Linked DNA regions of Homo sapiens: all the other regions are linked to region 1. Evidence: promoter capture Hi-C in 16 types of primary human blood cells and fetal thymus (Javierre and others, 2016). All regions are on one chromosome and are shown on one strand. Each heading gives the region's core, a stretch centred on a gene start or on the middle of the fragment in contact. The rest is flanking DNA. Distances are from core to core; before and after follow the strand shown. Region 1 holds the start of COXFA4L3 (cytochrome c oxidase associated subunit FA4L3). Region 2 has its middle 23 kb from the start of SLC28A2-AS1. Region 3 has its middle 14 kb from the start of BLOC1S6.

What was found. The method cuts DNA at HindIII sites, captures the fragments that hold promoters and counts their contacts. A CHiCAGO score of 5 or more calls a contact.
Region 2: a contact is called between a fragment that was not itself captured here and the fragment with the promoter of COXFA4L3 in region 1, in 4 of 17 cell types (M2 macrophages, M0 macrophages, naive B cells and 1 more). The highest score is 8.2, in M2 macrophages.
Region 3: a fragment that was not itself captured here is called in contact with the fragment with the promoter of COXFA4L3 in region 1 in 16 of 17 cell types (M2 macrophages, M0 macrophages, monocytes and 13 more); the score reaches 22.2 in M2 macrophages.

What each region holds. Positions count from the first base shown.
Region 1 is chr15:45,429,357-45,432,378 of GRCh38, forward strand. COXFA4L3 (cytochrome c oxidase associated subunit FA4L3) reads left to right here and starts at 1,254. Exons shown (of 5, transcript NM_197955.3): 1 at 1,254-1,299; 2 at 1,414-1,476; 3 at 1,645-1,730; 4 at 2,716-2,776. The coding sequence starts at 1,441. RefSeq lists a silencer at 1,197-1,276. The HindIII fragment of the contact is 4,531 bases long and covers 1-2,037 here.
Region 2 is chr15:45,300,600-45,303,798 of GRCh38, forward strand. No RefSeq gene overlaps it. Among named protein-coding and RNA genes, the nearest start is that of SLC28A2-AS1, 23 kb to the left of the region's middle. The HindIII fragment of the contact is 3,550 bases long and covers 1-3,199 here.
Region 3 is chr15:45,571,640-45,574,758 of GRCh38, forward strand. No RefSeq gene overlaps it. Among named protein-coding and RNA genes, the nearest start is that of BLOC1S6, 14 kb to the right of the region's middle. The HindIII fragment of the contact is 5,703 bases long and covers 1-3,119 here.

The DNA.
Region 1 (3,022 bases), core at 4-2,503:
TTGGGCACCAGACAGACCTGCGTTCTGATGGCATCGCCGCCACTTACCAGTGACGTGACCAGAGCCTCTCTGAGTCTTAATAAGACTTTGCACCCACCTTGCCGAGGGGAATCTGGCTCAGTGTCTGGCACACACACAGCCCCTGGCTCTGTGAAATTGTTACCATTGCAGCCGCCTGCAAACTGCAAAGTGAGGTTGCTGGCTTAGAGGAGAGTTAGGAGGGAACCCAAAGACTAAACCAGCCGGCAGGGTCGTTTGCAGAAAGACCTTCTCCTGACAGCCTCCCCAGCTTATTCTTTTGTTTGTTCTCCCTCGACCTCGGGTTTTTGTTTTATTGTGTTTATTTGTTTGTTTTTGTTTTTTTGGGTTTTTTTTTTAGCAGAAAAAGTCAGGACGCCCTGGGAGTTATTCTGAAATAAACTTTACAATTTAATTTTAATGATCTCCATAGGTGCACAGACCACATTTTGGAGCTTTTAATGTGATTGGATTAATTCTAATTTACCCGCCTGCACCTGGGAGCCTCTCCTGGGACCCTCCGGTCTGCAGCTCATTTTTCCGGACCCCCTTTTATTGTTTATTTGCTTATTTAAATATTTTGTTTTATTCTATTTTATTTAAAACAGGGTCTCGCTCTGTTGCCCAGGCTGGAATACAGTGGTGTAATCTTGGCTCACTGCGACCTCAAAGGCCTGGACTCAAGCGATTCTCCTGCCTCGCCCTCCTCAGTAGCTGGGACTGCAGGCATGCAGCACCACGCCCGCTAATTTTTTTTAGTAGAGACGTGGTTTCGTCACGTTGGCCAGGCTGGACTCGAGTGATCCTCCTGCCTCAGCCTCCCAAAGTGTTGGGATTACAGTCCTAAGCCACCGCGCCAGGCCCGGATACCCTTTTAGAAGGGTTGGCTTTCCCTCAGGCCTCGGCTATCTGCGCTCCCCTCTTAGGGGGTTCCACCTCCTACTCCCCAAACCTCCAAACTCCTCACAAGCACCTAGGGGGGCCAAGAGCGACCGGGGTCGGCAGGTAAGGAAGACCGCGGCGAGCGGCAGGGGGCGCCAGCGCCCGCGTTCGGGCGCTTCACGTCAGCCGCAGAATGTCCTGCAGGGGGCGCCCGGGAGTCGCGTGCCCAACGGGGAAAGCGAGTCAGGTCCCTCGCGCTCCCCGCCCCACGCGCGTGACCAGAGCGCGCTGGCCCGGCCCACCCGGGGCGGTTGTGGTCGCTATATATAAGGTGGGGAGGCCGCCGGCCCGTTCGGTTCCGGGCGTTACCATCGTCCGTGCGCACCGCCCGGCGTCCAGGTGAGTCTCCCATCTGCAGAGACGCGGACGCGCCGGCCCGCAGTTGGCCTGCGGAGCGCGGTGGACGGTTTGGCGCCCACCAGGCGATCAATACTTTGGATTTTTAATTTCTAGATTTGGCAATTCTTCGCTGAAGTCATCATGAGCTTTTTCCAACTCCTGATGAAAAGGAAGGAAGTAAGTTTTAAAAACAATTGAAAATCTTGACTAAAGTTTTCATTTTTAAAGATGAAAAGATGGCACAGATTTTGAACAAAGTATAAAATAAATACAGTTGTTTTGCTGTGTTTCAAATGTTTCATATTGAAGTGTCCAAATGTGTCCCCTCCACCTGTTATTTGTTAGCTCATTCCCTTGGTGGTGTTCATGACTGTGGCGGCGGGTGGAGCCTCATCTTTCGCTGTGTATTCTCTTTGGAAAACCGATGTGATGTAAGTAGGTCTCAATTTATAAAAACGTTTTTGGCAGTGTTTGGATGACTTTTAGTTTATGAAATGTATAAGTTTCCTATTTTTTTCCCATGGATGAGAATGCCAAATTGTGAACTGGGAGTCAGGGTTAAAAAGCATCTTTTATCAGAAAACTCTTATGATATTGTCTACCAATGGGTCAGAAAATGAAAATTAGAAAAAAAAAAGAAAAAATTTAAAAAAACCCATGATATTAATCAAATTAGTTTATTTCTTGTGTTTATTCTTTTACCCATTGGCCCTTCTCCACTCTCTGGCAGTGAAGTAAAGCTTGTTTTTTTTTTTTTAAGTTTTGAAATTTAAAGTTCTTCAGTGGTTTTGGGAGATATATATCATGAAACAATCATTTTAATTAAAATTTTAAATTTTAGCTTATTAGATTTTTACTAATGTGGTAGAATTGATAGATTCAGTTGTCTACGATGAACCTAATCTCAACTTTGGGTAGAAGAAAGTAAAAAACAAAAACATGTATCCTGGAATATGAGGAAAAGATAAACTTGAAACTGTTGGAGGCTGGTGCAGGGCTGGAGAGGGCAGTCCTCTAACCGCTGGCAGAGGAGCCTAGAGCCCTGGAGTTCACCACCTGCAGAGTTCAACCTGCCCCTCCCACAGACTGAGATAAGAACATTATTGCATGTCCTTGGCTTGGCAGTTTCACTCCCATGGTTATTTGGTTTGTGGGATCCTTCCCCAATGCAGCCCAATCAAGAGAATACAGACCTCCTACCCTTTAGGGGAACTGATGTTTAATGTTTGAGCCACACCATGAAACTCCCTTAGAGAATTTTCAATCAATTTTAGTTGCTACTGATGGTTCCTGATCATTAGCAGACACATGCCTTAGTATGAGACTGGTTTTGTCCCTAACATGTTTATAAACCCAGTATCAGTGTTGGTTTAAATTCACATCTTTTAATGTTTAATTGGCTTTCTTTAATTTTAGCCTTGATCGAAAAAAAAATCCAGAACCTTGGGAAACTGTGGACCCTACTGTACCTCAAAAGGTATTGTTAAATTAAAAACAAATGATTTATATTTTGCCCAAACCTTAGCACCTTTGTGAGCAAAATAGATTTAGTACCTTACCCTTATTGTGTAACTTAGATCAATTGTGCCTTCATCGAGTAATTAAAATGAGGAAATTTTAAGAGCCTACTCTATGCCAGGAGCATTGTCCATCCACTCATGAGAAGCATATACACTTTTGGAACTATGGCTCACATAATACCTGGCAAACTTAAAAATCTGGA
Region 2 (3,199 bases), core at 465-2,964, 130 kb before region 1:
GCTAATAAATGGTGGAGCTGGCATTTGATCCCAGGAGCTCTGGCTTTAAAACCCACCTGTTTAACCAAGAGTGGCAGGGATTTTTTTTTAAAATGAAACACACCACTGTTCCTATTTCTTAAGTCTAAGCCTCTTTATATTTTTTGGAAATTCAAATATCTATACTCCTTATGAATAGCACATAAATCTACTTCCCCATCTTAAGCTCATCCCCTCTGGCTGGTCCAATAGAGTACTTTAGTTTCAAGAAAAATTTATATTTTGAGCTTCCCTGCTAAACTAGGAGTTAAAGAATGCTGACCTTAAAGCCTTGGCTGTAGCAGTAGATTTTGCCATGACTGTTGTGGAATAGGCTACTAGGCAGGGATGGGAAGAATTTGGGATGTAAAGCTGGAAATTACTGGGATATCAATGGCTGGCACTTCTGGGTTTTATGTCTTGTATTCCCTACTACTCAAGGCCCCCAATCTTCAGTCTATGTTAGGCATTCACTGTCTTCCTTCCTATCTCTTAATATAATGTCTTTCCTGTAGGTCCTGATCCTTAGGATGATTTTTCTCTTCTAGTCTATGCTGTATCCATTTCAAGCCAAGATATCACTTTTAACTTTCTAGGTTCTCAGGAAAGCAGGCTTCTTCCCTATCTCTATTTTGTCTAGGTTTCCTGCCCTTTAGCATCGCAGTGAAATTTTTAAAATAACAGTTACGAGTTTCATCTATTCAGTCAGCATTCCCAGAGTACTGCTCACAAAAAATTTTTTGATTTGCTTTTTTTGTGATTGTGTATACTCTATCTTTTTTACTTGTTAGTGTCCATATCCATTTTTATTTTCAGGGTGAAATTCTCAGTGTTATACACCCTTGTTTTGTTTTGGCTTTGTATTTGAATTTGCTTCACTCTATTTTTCTCTACTTTTAAGGCTTTAAAAAAATAGGTCCTTCGGCATTTTCTTCACTCTTTTTTTTTTAATTGACATGACATTCGTAGCATAATATTAATCATTTTATTTTTTGAGGCAAGGTCTCTCTCTGTCACTCAGGCTGGAGTGTAGTGGGGCCATAGCTCATTATAGCCTCAACATCCCAGGCTCAAGCAATCCTCCTGCCTCAGCCCTAGAGTAGCTGGTACCACAGTTGTGTGCCACTATGTGCTAACTTTTGTATTTTCTGTAGAGACAGGGTTTCGCCACATTGCCCAGGCTGGTCTTGGACTCCTGAGCTCAAGGGATCCTCCCATCTTGGCTTCCCAAAGTGCTGGGATTGTAGACATGAGCCACCGCACCCGGCCATATTAATCATTTTAAAGTATACAATTCAGTGGCGTTTAGAACACTCACAATGTGTACCACCTCTATATAGTTTCAAAACATTTTCATTAGCCCAAAGGACAACGCTTTACCCATTAAGCAGTCACTCCTCATTCTACCCTCTTTTAGCCCCTGGAACAACTAATCTGCTTTCTATCTGTACAGATTTTTCTATTCTGAATATTACATATAAATGAAACCCACATATGACCTTTGTGTCTGATTTATTCTACTTAGCATAATGTTTTCAAGGTACCTGCATGTTGTAGCATGTATCAGTCCTTTGTTCCTTTTTATGGCTGAATAATATTCTATTATATGCATATGTCACATTTTATTTATTCATTCATTCTTTTATGGACATGTGGTTTGTTCCCATCTTTTGGCTATTGTGAATAGTGTTGCTGTGAACATTCATGTACACGTATTTGTTTAAGTATCTGTTGTCAATTCTTTGCAGTATATACCTTGAAGTACAATTGCTGGGTCATAGGGTAATTCCCTGTTTGATTTTTTGAGAAACCACCAAACGGTTTTTAACAATGGTTGCACCATTTTATATTCCATCAGCAATGTACAAGAGTTCCAATTTCTCTAATTCCTTAGCAATACTTACTGTTTTCTTTTTGTTGTTGTTGTTGTTGTTGTTTGGTTTTGGTTTTCTAATTATAGCAATCCTAGTGGGTTTGAAGTGGTATCTCATTGTGGTTTTGATTTACATTTCCCTAATGACGAATGACATTGAGCATCTTTTTATGTGGTTGTTGCTCACTGGTATATCTTCTTTGAAGAAATATCTACTTAAGCACTCTGCCCATTTTTAAACTGAGTTGCTTGTTTTTTTCTGTTGAGCTGTAAGAGTTTTAAAAAATATATTTTTGATACCAGGCACTTAGCAAATATATGAGTTGCAAATGTCCCATTCTTTAGGTTGTCTTTTCACTTTCTTGGTAATGTCCTGACATAAAAGTTTTAAATTTGGACACAGTCCATTTTACCTATTTTTTTCTCTTATTGCTTGTGCTTTTGGTGCCATATCTAAGAATTCATTGCCAAATCCAAACTGATAAAAATTTACCTTGATCCTTTTTTCTAAGAGTTTAGTAGTTTTTGTTTCTACATTTAGGTTTTTTTTTTTTTTTTTTGAGGCAGAGTCTCGCTCTGGCTCTGTTGCCCAGGATAGAGCATGATGGCGTGATCTCAGCTCACTGCAGCCTCTCTGCTTCCTGGGTTCAAGCTATTCTCCTGCCTCAGCCTCCCAAGTAGCTGGGATTACAGGCATTCACCAGCATGCCGGCTAATTTTTGTATTTTTAGTAGAGACAGGGTTTCACCATGTTGGCCAGGCTGGTCTTGAACTCCTGACCTCAGGTGATCCACCTGCCTCAGCCTCCCAAAGTGCTGGGATTTACAGATGTGAGCCACCACATCCAGTCTTTTTTTTTTTTTTTTTTGATCCATTTTGAGTTACTTTTGATCCATTTTGAGTTACTTTTTGTATATGGTGTGAGGTAGGGGTCCAAAAAGTGTCATTCTTTTGGATGTGGATATCCAGTTTTCCCAGAACCATTTGTTGAAAAGATTACTTCTTCCCCATCAAATGGTCTTGTCACCCTTGTTGAAAATCAATTGTCCATAGATGTATGGGTTTACTTCTGGTCTCTCAATTCTATTCCATTGATGTTTATCTCTGTCCTTATGCCAATACCTCACACTGTTTTGATCACTGTAGCTATGTAGTAAGTTTTGAAATTGGAAACTATGAGTCTTCCAACTTTGTTATTTTTTTGATATTATTTTAGATAATCAGGGCCCCTTGCAATTCCCTATGAATTTGAGAGGATCTACTTTTCCATTTCTGCAAGAAAAAAAAAGGCATTGGAATTTTTATAGG
Region 3 (3,119 bases), core at 135-2,634, 140 kb after region 1:
AACTCTTTGTATTATTGACCTCATTACATTATAAGGAAATTGAATTTTTAAAATATCATCTCACCTTTTGGTCTGGAGAATCTTTGGAAATAATTCACATTTAGCAACTGAAACACTTTGAAGAGAACATTTTAAGTAAAAAAAGGACTATTTTGCATAGCTAATGCAAGTACTTATTTTAGCAATTTTAAATGAAGCATGATCTATCTCCTAGCTAATTTAAATAAATCTATCCTAAAAGGAAAGCTGAGTCCTGGAATAATATATGATGCCTATGGTCATTAAAATCACACTTTTTCCATAACATAGAGAATAAAGTAATAATGACTGATGGCTACTTTGATATCTACATGTAAGATTAACAAATGAATTTTGTGAAAACCCCAAAGTGGAAGAAGAATCGCTGTCTTTTGAATAATATTTAAAGTTATTTGAATGAATCATCATTTGTGACTAGTTTTACTAATAGTTCAAAAACACTGATACTATTTCAAATGATTAACACTCAATATTACGGATATTCATTTACTGTCAGATTTGATAATACTAAATAAAAAATAAAAAAGATTCCCCACCTGCCAATAGAAGCAGAACACTGGTATTGGTGATGTTCTCTATCCCTCACAGCTTGATCTTCTAATTTTGCAGGTTTGCAACTTCAGTTGCCAGCTTAACCAGTTGATATTAACCACTAAAAAACTGCCTATTGTATGAAGTTGATTTGTATAAAAGAAATGAATTTTAATAAAACATAGAATTGCCAAGCCCTCCGATATTCATTTAAGTCATTTAGTCCCTCTTATTTCAACAGAGAAGTCTACATAAGAAGCCAAATTAAGGTTGAATGGTTACTTAGGAAACCTAAAGTCTATTTAAGAGATCACATTAAGGTTAGTGAATATATGTATCCAAGGCACTAATAACAGAAATAATACTATTTCTTCTAGCCATAATAAATGCTCGTTTAGTGGGTGCTATTATTTACAATAGTGTCTTGCAGCAGTTTACAAATCCTGTTCATATAATGCGTGCTTGATTCTTACAAGAACTACACCGAGTAATGGGTCTGGTATTATCATTATCATGCCTCTTTTACTGATGAAAAAAACACAGGTTCAGAGAGTAAGTGACTTGACTAAAATCTCATAACTGATATAGTTGACATCTGTTGTTTTGGTTGGGCCAATTTCCTTCCTCTTTTTGGTAATAGGACTCTGATTTTTCCTTTAAGGAACTACCCAGTGCCTTTCTATAACTCCTAGCAGGTCTGTCAGTCAAGGGGCTCTGCCTCTGTCTGTTATGTGTGACCCACACTGACCCATCAGGGTCCACTATATTCCCCTAGATGCAGAGATTGGTATACGGGTGGGCATGTAATCCAAGTATTTGAGTGTTTTTTTTTTTTTTGAGATGGAGTCTTGCTCTGTTGCCCAGGCTGGAGTGCAGTGGTGCAATCTTGGCTCACTGCAACCTCTGCCTCCTGGGTTCAAGCAATTCTCCTACCTCAGCCTCCCGAGTAGCTGGGATTACAGGCATGCGTCACCACACCTGGCTAATTTTTGTATTTTTTGTAAAGACGGGGTTTCACCATGTTGGCCAGGCTGGTCTTGAACTCCTGACCTCAAGTGAGCCACCTGCTTCAGCCTCCCAAAGTGCTGGGATTACAAGTGTGAGCCACTGTGCCTGGCTTTGAGTTTTTTTTTTTTTTTTTTTAAGGGATTGAAATAAATGAATGCTAGGAGCGCACTGACTTCACTTGGGAGATGTAAGGATCATGAAACCCTGGAGCTATTTTCCTATCACATTGAGAGAGCTCCTAGAGTGAATGCTACATAGGAGAAAGCAGAGTGGAGAATCAAAGGGAGAGAGAGGGAGAGATTCCTATTTTGGCTGAGGAGAAGACATAGAAATCCTTGAAGCCAGAGCAGCCCCCGGACTTTCAAGCTCAGTTGATCAAAACTTCCTTTGTTTGTTTAGGAAGGTCTGGACTTCTCTACTTGCTAGTTGGTTAGACAAAAATCTAATACAGCTAATGATTATCTTAGCTGGGCTTGAAACAAATCTTTTGACTTTAGCCCTTTGCTATTTCTTTTCTTGGGATATTTGAGGTGCTGCTTTTCTGGCTGGAAACCTCTGTGGGTGGTGGTGCCTTTGCCCAAGTTCTTGTCCTATGTCCAGGAAGAGTGATGTATGCAGACAAGTGGAGGGTGAGCAAGACGAAGAAGAACTTTACTGAGGGTCAGAACAGCTCAGAGGAGACCCGCGGTGAGCAGGTCCTCTCTGTGGGCAGGTCGTCCCATCGAGTGTGCAGCTCTCAGCAGAGAGGAGGCCTGGAGTGGATGGCTCCTCTCTGCTGACAGGTCATCCCCAAAAATGTTCATCTCTCAGCGGAGATGGTAGTTCCTCTATGCAGCTGGCCATCCTGATGTCTGCCCTGCTCTGGCTGAGTCTGGGGTTTTTATGGTTTTCATTCAGAGTGGGGAAAGTATATGCTGATTGGTCCATGGGCAGCAATAGGTGGGCTCAGGAAAAAGCACCACAAGTTCCCCCTCTGGTGGGCAGGACTGGTAGGACCTTCCCTGGCCTGAAAGTGGAGCTTCACTGGGGACCCACCCCCTTCCTCCCAGGAGCCTGTCTGCCTCTCACGGCCATTCATTGGCACCCAGGATGTTTGTGCCAAGAGGTGCCTGCAGGCCAGTGTTGAGCTACGTGCAGTCCCCCTCGGCTTCCCTCCCATGATCCTCATCACCCAAAGTCTGGAGGGGACTGATGTGGCTGGGGGCTGGTGTGTCAGCACTGCCCTGAGCATGAGCCCCCTGGCTGGGCTGCAACAATGCCGGGGCTCGGCTCCAACCTTGCTCCAGGATTAGAGCAGGAGCTGACAGTGGGAGAAGCCAGGCAGCAGGAACAGGTGCTGGCAGGGGGCTCTGGGAGAGAGCTGGCTCTGGGCTCCCAAGAGCACAGAGACCCCTGGGTCTGCAGCCGAAGGGCAGGGCTCCTGCCTGCTCCATGGATCGTATTTTCCTTTAAGGAACTACCCAGTGCCTCCCTGCTGTAGCTGGCATCTTGGCAATGGCCACTTTAGATGAGTCGCTGCTGCTATCATTTCTATGGAGGTA